Regions from separate parts of the Homo sapiens genome. Here region 2 is linked to region 1. Evidence: promoter capture Hi-C in human tissues and cell types (Jung and others, 2019). All regions are on one chromosome and are shown on one strand. The core of a region is centred on a gene start or on the middle of the fragment in contact, and the rest is flanking DNA. Distances in the headings are between cores, read along the strand shown.

Region 1 (7,123 bases), core at 1,346-3,845:
CCACAGTTCATCTGTTCGTACTGTTACTGTTTACCTTGGTGTTCCCCAGTAGCTTCTAAGAACCTACAGTCAGGAACTGGTTTTTATTCACTTTTCTACTGCTGCCCTCCCTCTACCCTAGGGCCACCAAAAGAGACACACAAACATTCCATGAATAAATGATCAAAGGTTAAGTTTATCTTCAGAACTGCTAGGATCCACTCAATTTTTCCACCTAAGTTGTTCTAAGTTTACCTGCACATAGATACACACTGGGAAATACCTAAATTCTGAATAACAGTTTTCTTACTAAAGCATCTTAGTTATAAACACTCTATCTTTAAGCAAACAGCTGGGATGCAGTTACATTAAGTCTAGAGTTTCTCATCTACGGTTTTTAATTCCTAAGATTCTGGCCTATGGAAAGTTCATTTGTACCCTTTTCTTCTTGGGCAGTGTAAAGAGCTCTTAGGATTAGACAAGCTGCTACAGGGAAGAAATCATGTCTTATTTATACCAGTACTTAGAACCATGGCTGCTCAGTATCTCCAGAAATAAATATTTTTCTATTTGGTTTCACTTTCTGTATGAGGGAAGTACTCACAGTGAAGTTCAGATGAACAGTATTTCCTGTGACCAGTAAAAATATCACGAAAGCCCTTCAATTTTAATAAGGACATTTAAAAGCCTTTCTTTTAGGATTATGTGATTAAATCTAAACCATAAAGACCCAACCTATACTTCTGGTCTAGAAAAATAAAATTAGTACAACTTCTGAGTTCTAGCATGTTTTAGACTAATGGATCTTACTGCAGTAAAACAGAAAAAAATACTCAGAATTATTAAAAAATACGGTGAGAGTAATTTTTGTGCACAAAATGAACAATTAAAAACTGATTATACAAATTTAAAAAAAAATTGAAAGGTGGCACTGAAAGTTTCCTGCCTGAAAAGCCTTCAGGATGAGAGTATTATAAAAAGTTAGCACTGTGCACCTGACTTTCTACACTGCTTCAATATGTGACCTTGGAAATGTCATGTAATTTCTCTCATTTCTAGTTCTGTAAAATGGGAATGTCCACCTGTTCTCCTCTCAAGGACAATTACACAGATAATCAGATTAAAAATTTGGTATTTGGTGTTCTTTAAAAAAAGAAACTTGTCTAATTAGTATGCTTTAATCATCACTTGTACAGTACATTCCTCTTCAAGAATCCAATTCCAAGAGAAATATTTAAGCAGACGTTGAGGACAGATTTCCTTAAGGGAATTATTTTATAAATCTGGAAAGCAATGTAACGAGATTATAAATTAACAAACTGATTACATAAGCCTTGACAACCCGGGCTTTAAAGTACACTGCTGTATATATTCTGATAAGTTAAAGACTGGTTTGGGACATAGTGCTCCAATCCCATACAAGGAGCCCAAACTCAGGCATTTCATGTTTGATAGGAACTTGGTGGAGATTCAACAGGATGTCCAACACTTGCAAGCCATGCTTCACCTTAAAACCTGACAAAATGTTTAAGGCATTAAGTCAACTTTACCACGGTTCCTAAGACTTTAAGAATGCACATAATTAAAGGGAAGGGGGGTGGAAAGTAACATGACAGTTTGAAAGGTCCCATATCCTCAGACCTCTATAGATTTAGGAACTCCACTGCTAAATTCTCCCCAAAGCCTGAAACTCCCTATGAAACTACTGGACTGTATGCGATCCAACAGTTACAAATAGCACAGCTCCAAGAACCCCGAAGATAAAAGGCTGCCACTTTCCTGCAACCCAAGTCCAAGTAAAAGGCAGGAAGGTCCCTGTAAAATGGACCAGAAAGAAATCAACAGGCGATGACTATGGAAAAGAACGTAGATTTCCCAGTCTCCCAGTCTGCAAAAATTCTAGCTCTCCCTCGGGAATGGCACTGCTCCTCTTTCCTTACCCCTTTGCCCTTTCTCTACAGACAACATCCCCACTCTATTGTAAAGCAGTTTGACCACGGAACCCTTTTGCTGAGGCCGGATTTCTACAGTCTTCTGAAAGGGGAAAACGCATTCAAAGAACACACACCCTACCAAGCGCCCAGGGCGCGGGGCCCCGCGGGCGCCGCACTCGGCCCGCTCCGGGGCGGGGCGCGGGGATGCGGGCGCCTTCCGAGGTGCCGCAATCCCGCCGCGGCCGCAAGGGCAGGGCCTCCAGGCGACCGCGGCCGCCGCCGCAGTGACGGCTCCCGCCGGGCCCCGCCGCCGCCCCGCCGCCAGGCCGCGCCGCGGGGTCCGGGCCACCGCAGCCCGGGCCCCGCGTCCTCCCGGGCCGCGCGCTGCGGCCGGCGCCGAGAGCGCAACTTACTTTCCGCCTGCGGCGAGCGCCCCGGCCCGGGCGCCCAGCCCGGCAACAGCGGAGGCTACTGAGGCGGCGGAGGCCGGCCCCGCACCCCTGCCTACGGCCGCCGCGCCCCGCCGCGCTCCGCGCTCGCCCCTACCTCAGCCGGCAGGCGAGCGTCCGTCCGCAGCGGCCGCGGCGCCGACAACTCCCTCCCGGCCGCCGAAACCCCGCACCCAGCGCTAATCATAATACCGAGCGGGCTGCCGGCCGCGGGGAGGGGGTGCCGGGTAGCTGCGCCTGCGCGGGCTGCGCGTCACTGTGACGTCAGCGCTGGGGCGGGGCCGCGGGAAGGGCAGGGCGGGGCGGCGCGCACCTGCGGCCGGCGCGCGGGCTGCTGGAGGGCATCCTGGCGGCTTTCTGACCCCGGCGAGTCGGGGCTGAGGCGGCTGGCGGGACAAAGCGGGCAAGGCGCCCAAGGAGGATGGAGGACGGGGGAGGAGGAAGCACCAGGGACACGGAACAATGGCCGGGAAAAAGTAGCGCGAGCTGTCAGGGGAAATCGGAGGGAAGGGACCGCGTCTGTACAGGACTGCGTCTTGGCGGCAGGGGGCAGGGAGCCGCACGCGCTTTACTCTTTGGTTCCCGCCCAGGTTTAAACAAGGATAAAAAAATTGTAAAAATACATATACATACACACATGCACATATGTATATACATATATATACATAATATGATTTTTTTCTCTGTAGTTTCTTCTCCCTGGGACTCTAATTTGAAAAAATTCGGTTGATTTTGTTGTTATTTAAGCAAAATTGGAAAAGCCCAACATCTGAATGCAGTGCTGGCCTTAAAGGTCAGCGGGAGACACAGGCCCTGCTAGGCAGCCTCTGGCAACAGCATAGAAAAGTAAACGGTCGTGGGGACACATCAAAGCACGTGAAGTCAGAGATTCAAAACACGCCGGGCATTAACCATAGCCCTTGATGGTTCAGTGGTATGGTCGCCAGGCCAGGTTGCTCTGGAAGGGAGCTTAGGGATGGCCGCAGAGGGTGGGAGGGGACTCCCGACTCCCACCCCTGGAAGCATGGCATGCAATAGAGACCAGCTCTTCAGGGTTCCTGGAAGGGAACACCAACAAACCAGACGCCAGATTTCTTCAACCTGCTTTTCCCCTTCTGTTCCCACGTTGTGTCCACCCTTCCCCAAGAAAGGACCCCTAGCAAGGAAGGACACAAGCCAGAAGAGCTGCGGAGATGCTGCAGGCTTGGTTGAATTGACTGGACTGCGAAGAGAAATCTAGATGGTTTTAGCAAATCTCTGTTGACCTGCAAATGTCAAAAGCCTTTTAGCTTCTATGCATCAACTTTGCATGTCTGAAGATGATTGGGAAGCAGGAGTGGATTGTTGGGAGGTGCAAACAGTTTGATTCTTAGGGTAATAACATAGGGTTTTCTGATCAAGGGGACTCCCAGTTACCCTAATACCCTTGCATCAGGTGGTGGGAGAGCACCAGGGAAAGCCTCAGATTAGGCCTCTGCGCCTTAGGGTCCCACCTGGGATCACTCTGACCTGAAAAGACCATAAAAGAGTCATCTCATTTTGACATGGAAATCGTAACTGTAGCAGCATATTAAGCAAGAGCTCCTAACTTGGATTTGTAGAATTTGTCCTTTTGTTGCTAGAAATCAGGAAGACCATGCACTTTTCTCCTCAGGGAGATATCACTATTCAGGGAACTCTGTAGCCAACTAAAGGGAGAAAATACCACTGTAATGGTCTCCCAAGGGATTTCCAGTGGTCGAAGGCCTCCACCCCTGGGTCTGTAGTCCCTGAGTTATATCAGTAACTACAGAACAATGACGATAATATATAAGCTCTTGAAAAATAAAGTATTTATATTGCTGCTGTTTAACTAGGTTTTGAATAAATTTTCTAAGGAAAACAAGGCATAAAAGAGCAAAACAAATGAAAAAGGGCAAAATAATAAATTGATTTAAATGAAGTTGGCTGCAATACTCTTCTAGAGAAGGACGCAGTACTGGCCACATGGTAAATCATTTATTCATCCCCAGTATTTCTTGGGTAGCTGAAGTGCTGCTGGCAAGAATATGACCCAGTTTTGGTTCCACACCATAAATGTGGTGACATGATTTGATTATGCTTCGGCAATATTTTAAGATATTCAAGTACAAATTAATAGTATTACTTAAGTTGGAATTTAAGCAAATGTGCTTATAGTTAATGAAGAAACTCCTTTTCCACTCTGCCCTGGGGCTTTCTCCAACACACTGCTTTTTTAATGTTGGGTCTTTTTATGGACCTGTAAGAAGCTTTAATTAGATGTACAGCATTCTACAAAACGACAAGATGAAGCATGCTTGCTTGTATTACAGTCTCTGTGATTCAGATCTCAAAAATAACATAATGCCACCAGTTTAAGGAAGATGTTGTTTATTGGAAGGAAACCAGGGAGGTGCCACAAATTAGATCAAAATGTGAAAATTGAGCAGACTGATGAAAGAATTGTCATTTTCATCTTTGGAACCCCAAAAGCAGCATATGTAACAAGGTTATCTTCTCTGGATATTGTTAGTTTTTGTAATTTATTTCAAATTTTAAAATAAATGTATTTAAAACAACAGACATTGAATATTCATACACAGTTCAATTTTGAGTTGTGACATTTTATTTAACAACATTCCCTTTTACATATTTAACTAGTTATTTCATACATTTATACTTGTGCATTTCTAGATCCTGGCTTCACCCCAGTAGGATCAAAATAATACTTAATTGGAATGACCTAAAGAGTTCCTCAAAGACTCCTTCACCACCCTATGGGCATCAGTTAACATCTTCTACTCTTTTATCTCAGATGTCAGTTAAGGTCCTGTGTGTGTGTGTGTGTGTGTGTGTGTGTGTGTGTGTGTGTGAGAGAGAGATATTTCTGATAGTTGCAAACAAGAATTGGAAATGCCAGTCCTTAACTCTGCTTGTTTGCAACCAGTGAACTAGAAGATAGGACAGACATTGACATTTAACCCCATCTCTACTGCTAAGAGCAAGATGGCTTTGGGAAAGTTGCATAACCTTCTATATGTTTCTTCTGTAAAATGAGAAAGACAGTGATGATAATAATACCTTTCTTATAAGTTTGATGTAAAGCAGTGGTTCTCAAAGTGTGCTCCCTGGACTAGCAGCATCAGCTTCTCCTGGGAACTGGATTGAAATGCAGATTTTCCAGTTCCACCTCAGACCTACTGAATCAGAAACTCTGATTTCTCTGTTTTAAGACTTGCAGGTGATTCTGAGACAGATTAGAGTTTGAGAACCAGAGTTGATGAGATTGAGTTTATATAAAGTATTAGAACAAAGGCTGGCATATAGTAAGCAGTATATTAATGAATATTTTTTAATGTGTGCAATATGATCTTGCCAAAATATGCAAAGTCTAATTTAGGCCAAAAGAAGCATGTCCATGTTGTTCTTTCAGCAAATAAATCCTGATAAATCCCTTATCTAAAAACGTCAATACAGCCTACCAAGCCCTTCCTGATCTGGTCCCTGGCTTCCTCTCCTGCACTTTCTTTTCTGCATGTGTACCCTGTCTCCAGCCTTCCCAGTTCTCACAAAGAGAATTGACTTTTCACAATTCCCAGTCTTTGCCTATTCTGTTCCTTCTGTCTGGAAATGTCACCTACTCCTTTTCTCCACTTACTACACCCGCAGTTTCCTGAATTCCTACTTACCCATCAAAATCCAGCTCCCATGTCACATCCTCTGTGCTACTCCTAACTGTCCCACTCCAGTCAGAGCCAGGAGTTCTCTGGGACCCCCATACCCTCCCACTCATAGTATCATACAGTTTTGTAATTTTATTGTTCCATTTTCTCCCTTTGGATCTTAAACTCTGGGGGGACAAGGATTGTATTTTATTTAAATTTCTATTCCTGCCACCTAGCACTGAGGTTGCAAATAGGCAGTCCCAGGGCTTTTCACCCACAGACTTGTGGCATTGTTTTTCCCCACATAGGTTCTTTAAGAATTTGAATTAGTTGAGAACATTTTTAAATTGGGAGATTTAATACTTTTGTTTAACAGTTTCATTGAATATAATCTGCATACCATAAAATTCACCAATAATAGGTGGACGATTCAATGGTTTTTTAGTAAATTTATAAAGTTATGCAGCCATCGCCCCAATCCACTTTTGAAATATTTTCATCTGGCTTGGGAGAGGTGGCTCACGCCTGTAATCCCAAAACTATGGGAGGCAGAGGTGGGAGGATCACTTCAGGCCAGGAATTCAAGACCAACCTGAGCAACACAGAGAGACTCCGTCTTCACAAAAATAATGAAAAACATTAGCTGGGCATGGGGGCATGCACCTTGGTCCCAGCTACTTGGGAAGCTAAGGTGGGAGGATCACCTGAGCCCAGGAGGGCGAGGCTGCGGTGAGCTGGAATCTCACCCCTGCACTCCAGCTTGGGCAACAGAGTGAGACCCTATCTCAAAAAAAAATTTTTTTATCAACCCCAAAAGGTCTCTCCTGTGCACATGCAATCAATCCCACTCCAGCTTTCAGCCCTCAACACATACTATCTGTTATCTGTCTCTATAGATTTGTGTTTTTCTAGAAATGTCATATAAATGGAATCATACCATGTGTACTCTTTTGTGTCTGACTTCTTTCATGTAGCATAATGTTTTTCCATCTAGCATGTATCAGTAGTTCATTCCTTTTTGTTGCTGAACAGTATTCCTTTATATGGATATATTAGATTTTCTTTATCCATCCAAGTGATAAACATTTCATTTATT
Region 2 (6,697 bases), core at 441-2,940, 1.0 Mb before region 1:
GAGGCAGAGGCTGCAGTGAGCCGAGATTGTGCCACTGTACTCCAGCCTAGGCGACAGTGTGAGACTCCATCTCAACAAAAACAAAAACAAAAAAAGTGAGAAACATTAAAAAAAAAACACTCTGAAAAATGACTTTTGGGCCTTATCATGGCAAATGACATTTATTTCAAGCCACAGTAAACACAAGACAATTTCAGAATAACTATTTTTGAGCACAGTTATTTATAGTACCATTATAGTTTATGCAATATTTACTGTTGCTACTAAATGTCTGGCATTGTGCTAAGTACTAGGCATAAAATACATTTCCATCCTGTAGGTGATCTGTGTGTTGTAGCTACATTCACCAATTCATGTTTTTAAAACTTCACTTTTCAAGAGAAGAGATTTAACTTTTAAATTGTTTAGGTGCTTATTAGGAGAGATATATAGGGAAATACCTATAAAACTTCTAGAACATCCAAACTATATATAGGCAATTTTATATTATTATATTTTACTGAAACCAATTTAAATATGTATGTAAATTTTGCTTAGAATGTTTTGTTTTGTTAGGATGAGTTTCTTCAAGAAATCTTTCTAATATGGGTAATGGCTAATCTTTGAAGACCTGCTATGTGCCATGTACATGTGCTAACAAACACATGGGTTTTACCTCATTTTAACTTGACAAAATGCTACCTTTGAAATTAGGTACAATTACTTCCATGTTATAGACGAGGGGCTTTTGGTAAGCACTCAGGCTCTCTAAGCTTGCATGGGGTGCCCACTTTCTGGCTCCAGATTTTGGATTCCTAACCACTAGGTATTCCCACCTCCCTAGGTCACTGCCAGGAGCAACAAACTGTTAACTCATTAACTTTACTAGTTTTTGGTAGGTATAATTTACATGCATTCTTATTTAACTTTTCTTACCAGAATTAAAAAGCAGAAAATAAAAAATTAACTAGAAATCTACTAATACGATTTTTTTTTTCACTCAAAATGAAACGTGAGAAGAAAAATACTCACATTTGATTTTGGGGAGAAAGTAATGGAAAGATACACTAATAACATCTCTCTCTTGACTTCTCAGTTCTGAGAGAAAAGCAGTATTTTTAGGACAAAGGAGAACAAATCAGGAGCGTGAGAAAGGAAACTCTGCTGTCCCTGGACAACCTCCTCCTGATTAGTCTGGCATGAAAGCAAGGGAAAGCCATCAAGAAAGTAACAGAAAACTCACAGGATGGACAAAATATTTGTAATTCATATATCTGACAAGGGATTTGTATCCAGAGTGTATATAAATGCATATGTACATGTGTATGTATGTATGAATACTCTTACAACCAAAAAAACCCAATCAAAAAAAAAGGGCAAAAGATTTAATAGGCATTCTCAAAAGAAAATATACGAATGACCAATAACTGTATGAAAAGGTCCTCAACATCATTAGTTATTAGGGATATGAAAACCAAAACTGTAATGATACATTACTTAACACCCACTAGGAGGAAAGCTAAAATAAAAAACACAGTAACAAGTGTTGGTGAAGATATAAAGAAACAGGAAATCCCGTACACGGCTGGTGGGAATATAAATATAAAATGATGCAGCTTCTTCAGGAAACAGTTTGGCAGTTTGGCAAAAAGCTAAATATAGATTTACTGTATGAGTCAGCAATTCTCCCAAGAGAAATGAATGCATATATACACATAAAAACTTATGTGAATATTCAAAGTAGCACTATTCACAATAGCCAAAAAGTGAAAACAACTCAAATGTCCATCAACCAATGAATAAACAGATTCCATTTTATAGAATATTGTTTAGCAATAAAAAGGAACAAAGTATTGATACATGCTACAACACTGAAATTTGAAAACACTAGGCTAAGTATAAGAAGCCAGTCATGGCTGGGTGCAGTGGCTCACGCATGTAATCGCAGCATTTTGGGAGGCCGAGGTGGATGGATGACCTGAGGCTGGGAGTTCAAGACCAGCCTGGCTAACATGGTGAAACCCCATCTCTACTAAAAATACAAAATTAGCTGCGCATGGTGATATGTGCCTGTAATCCCAGCTACTCAGGAGGCTGAGGCAGGAGAATCACTTGAACCTGGGAGGTGGAGGTTGCAGTGAGCCGAGATTGCGCCACTGTACTCCAGCCTAGGTGACAGAGGGAGACTCCGTCTCCAAGAAAAAAAAAAAAAAGCCAGTCACTAAAACACATGTATTAAATGATTCCATTTATGTGATCTGTCTAGAATGGGCAAATTCATGGAGACAGAGAATAAATTAGTTGTTGCCTAGGACTAGGGTGGAAGAGGAGACAACCAGGGAATGGAGAATAAATGCTAATGTGTACAAGGTTTCTTTTTCTGGAGGTGTTGAAGATGTTCTAAACTTAAATGGTGGTGATGGCTGCATGACTCTGTGACTATACCAAAAATGAATGCATTATATACTTTAAGTGAACTAATTTCATGATATGTGAAATTATCTCAATAAAGCCATAAAAATATTAAAACAAAAAAAGTTTAAAAAAAGTCAAAACAAAGGCACTGGCACCAAGTCTTAACAGTGCCTTGAAGAAAGTCAGCGTTAAGTCCCAAATAAAGTACTACTAGACACGATTATATACCATTGAAAGGCTCTTCTTGCAAGGGTTAAGCTATGTCTGAAAATAAATCCAAAAGGAGTTCCAATATAATTTTAATGTCAATGTTGTTAGAAAATGAGATGTTTTGAAGACTGATCAGTGGCTATAAATTACTCACTTGGCTGTAAATTACTCATTTTTATTCATGGTTTTATAATTCAAGTACATTCCTTAAAAAACAAAAATACTCTTTATCCCGTAACCTCACTTGCATAAGTCTCAGAAGTTACACTGCATATGAAATAAGGAATATGTGATTAGATAAAAGGAAAAGTTCCAATAACAAAGGTACTGTATTGTACACAGGCATTAATTGCTTTAACACACTGCTAAAAAAATCTTTAAAAGTAATTCTTACTAGGGCTGAATTGATTTGGAGGAATGAGGAGTGACTGCTAATGCATATGAGGTTTCTTTCTGGTATGAATAAAATATTCTAAAGTTGATTATGGTGATGGTTACACAACTCTGTAGATATAGTAAAACCACTGACTTGTATACTTTAAATGGGTGACTTGTATGGCATTTGAATTATACTTCTATAAAGTTGTTAAAAATTTTTAAAGTAAATGATTAAGTCTAGATGCTTTAATATAAAATTTTATTTCCAACTAAAAAATAGAAATATTTATAAAAATCTCATTTAAATGTCTGAGCTTATATTTGTTCCTGTGGCATATAAACACCTTTTGATGGCATCTCCCCCCAGTTGCACAGTTATATGAAATTATTCCCATTAACTTCAATTCTAGAAACTAAAATCACACACACACATATATGTGTGTGTGTATGGTTTCTAGAAGTCTGAAGGTAAATAGTATAAAGAGTTGAAACATAACCACACAATTGAAATTAGGTGTTATGAACAAACAATTCTATCTTTCCTCTAAATTTCTGATCACCCTTTTTAAGAAAACTCAGCTTTCAAAACTTCTTTTGATTATAACCTACAAGAAACACATTTTGCATAATGACCCAGTATACATACGTGCATATATGCAACTGAAATGAAAATTTTATCAAATAATTAAACTTACTACCTGTAATGTACCCTAGTATTTTCTTTCCCATTTTGTTGGGGAAAAAAAGTTACCACCTGCTGCATTGATCACAGCTGGCCACCTGAAAAACACTTCCAGCTCAGGTAGTAGTGGCTAGGATATTTGACACATTTGGTACGGGGTGACACAGAGTAGGCACTCAAATATTTGTTATATACATGATAGTGGTAGAAATGGTAGCTGAAGACAAATTACTGCATGAAGGCAGAAAAAACAATGCTTTTCTAGATCTAGAACGTACATGGAATTACTTTCTAATTAAAATACCTGCGAGGTGGCTTGGACTAGAGAAAGCACTAGTTTTCCAGGCTTATTTGTTAGAGAACAACAGCTGTAAGTAGATTAACAAAGTTCTATTACTAAAAGCCATGTGAAAAACATATACTATGTTGCATTGTTATGACAGCCTTTATGCTTCTGATGTGACCTGCTATTGAATATTTTTAGTTATAACAATTAGGGATATAGCAGAGATAAATAAAAACAGATCTTCTTTAAACTTCATTCTACCCACTTGTTTTATGCTTGCATTATTTATAAGATATGCCAAACTGGTTCTATCCTGTCATTTGTTCCCTTTGCTCGCCCTCTAGCGGACAGGCTACTGTGCAAGAAATAAAGATTGGAAATTGCAAACATTGGAAATAAGGAAAGCAACTGGAAACAGAAGAGAAACAATAGGTTTCAAAAGAGAGCACAGATCTGTTGAGACCACTACATTTGAATATGTATTACTGCTCTTTTAATACATATAAATATCTAATCTTATATATTATAAATTCTGGGTTAGAGAATACAATTATAAACCAATATATTAAAACATTTTAAATGTAACTTACTTTTGTAGTGGGCTCTGGCTTTGAGCCATAAACGACTCCTTCCTAAAGAAGTAATTAATCTTCTGAGAAAGGAAAAATCAATAGGGATGCTCTTTGAAATCATGAATTCTGCCACAGAGGATGACATACCAAGACTACTGCTTTCTATACAGGAACCTAGAAGCTTATTAAAAAGAAGGCTATATTGTGAGACTTCCACAGTTTCTGGAATAAAAAAAATGATATAATAAAATTCATTTATATTAAAGTGTCTCAAACCTCCATCTCATACTCCTTTTTCTTTCTCCTCCCCTTCACCCTTTCTTACCCATTATAGGACTCACAGTCACTAAAATGCAATCATTTTATATATTCTCTTTATTTTTCTTCTCCTTTTTTGAGACAGGGTCTCACTCTGTCAGCCAGGCTGGAGTGCAGTGGCATGATCTTGGCTCACTGCAACCTTCACCTCCTGGGCTCAAGTCATCCTCTCGCCTCAGCCTCCTAAGTAGCTTGGACTACAGGTCCACCAGGCCTGGCTAATTTTTATGTTTTTTTGCAGAGGCAGGGTTTCACCATGTTGCCCAGACTAGTTTCGAATTCCTGGGCTCATCTATGGCCATACCACCCTGAACACGCCCATATCGTCTGATCTCAAATTCCTGGGCTCAAGTGAACTGCCTGCCTCAGCCTCCCAAAGTGCTGGGATTACAGGCATGAGCCACCGCGCCCAACCTATCTTACATATTCTCTAAGTCAGAAACGAAAAAGCATTTGACAAAAGAAAAACCATTAACTTCCTTTGCAATAGAGAAGATAAAAAGAAGCTTGACAAAAATTTCAGAGGATGCATTAAGACCTCTGTATTTGATTCCCACATGTAACTGTGTATCTGTAGTGTCTTGAATAATTTCTCAATTCTGTTTGTATTATATCTACAGTTCAGACCTTAGCCTTATATATCCCTTGACTAAAAACAAATCATCCCCTAATAAATATTTACTGCCAAATTTAAAACAATCCTTTAATGGATTTTCTATTCCTTCAGTTATTCTTAGAAGAAAGAGAAGTCATCTTAGAGACTTCTCTTTTATTCCCTATATTCAGTCAGTTGGGTCTGTGAGCTAGACTGTAGTTCCTTACTGCTTTAGAATCTTTTAGTTATCCAGGACTTATCAGGAAATTAATCTCTCTACTTTTAGTCTTTTCCTAAACACTACTGCCAGAGGAACTTTCCTGAAACACCAATTTCATTATATCACTCCCTAGACCCAAAACTCTAGTGATCCCTTTTTATACACAGAGAAGAAAATTCCTTTAGCCTGACATTTAGGGTCTTCCAAAATCTGGCACAACTATCTGTCCAATCTCCCTATTACTACTTTGTTTCATTACCAACTAATTGTATATTAAGAGATTGCTAGATAGCAGCCATTGGGCCAGGAATACCAAGGTAAAGAAAATAGTACCATCCTGATTGAGCTCACTTTGTATAAGGAGAAACAGATAAGAATGCTCATTACAATACAGGAGCACAGTGGAATTAAGTGGAAAAATGAAAATTTATAGATAGTACGATGAAAGTACTGAGGGGAGGCCCTCAGGTTAACGTTTTCGTCATCCTCTGAACCTATCACATAGCTCATTCTTGACCCAAAGCTTTTGCTCATGGACACCCAACATTCAAGAGTACTGACTACCATTTCCCACATTGGCGTTTGAACTTGGCATCTGTTTCACTTCCTCCATTTCTTTCAAGTTTACCTGTGTTCCTAGGTAATGTAAACTAAGTTCTGTATTTATTCAGTGATAAGAGAAAAAGCTTGCTCAGGGCATTTAAACATATTGTTTGCTGATGACTTGACAGAAGTAGGGAAAAGGGAATGATAAAAATGCTTGTCTTAGGAACTGCTGACAAACAACCCAAAGATAAGCATCTCAGATTTTTTTAAACCATCAGGAAAGTATATTCAATTTGCAGAGAACATATTTTACAGAAAACTACTTCATTAAAAAATATGCTGGAATATAAAACTCAATCAAAACAGGTGGATAACTATTTCTTATTAACAGTTAAACACCAGATGGGCAAGAGATAATTAAGATAGACTTTTAAAAAACATACCTTGGGAATTTTGAAAACCTGGTAGATTCTGCAAAACTTCAAATGTCTGTCTA

Evidence for each region. The method cuts DNA at HindIII sites, captures the fragments that hold promoters and counts their contacts. A contact is called where the count stands out against the background at its distance.
Region 2: a contact is called between a fragment that was not itself captured here and the fragment with the promoter of SNRK in region 1, in 1 of the 25 tissues and cell types used here (hippocampus).

The regions. Positions count from the first base shown.
Region 1 is chr3:43,282,012-43,289,134 of GRCh38, reverse strand. SNRK (SNF related kinase) reads right to left here and starts at 2,595. Exons shown (of 7, transcript NM_017719.5): 1 at 2,460-2,595. RefSeq lists silencers at 2,061-2,110, 2,351-2,750 and an enhancer at 2,355-2,855. The HindIII fragment of the contact is 11,190 bases long and covers 1-6,703 here.
Region 2 is chr3:44,321,139-44,327,835 of GRCh38, reverse strand. TOPAZ1 (testis and ovary specific TOPAZ 1) reads right to left here. Exons shown (of 20, transcript NM_001145030.2): 17 at 6,645-6,697; 18 at 4,541-4,744. LOC105377055 (a long non-coding RNA gene) reads left to right here. Exons shown (of 4, transcript XR_940782.4): 4 at 1,076-3,145. Among named protein-coding and RNA genes, the nearest start is that of TCAIM, 14 kb to the left of the region's middle. The HindIII fragment of the contact is 6,671 bases long and covers 1-5,025 here.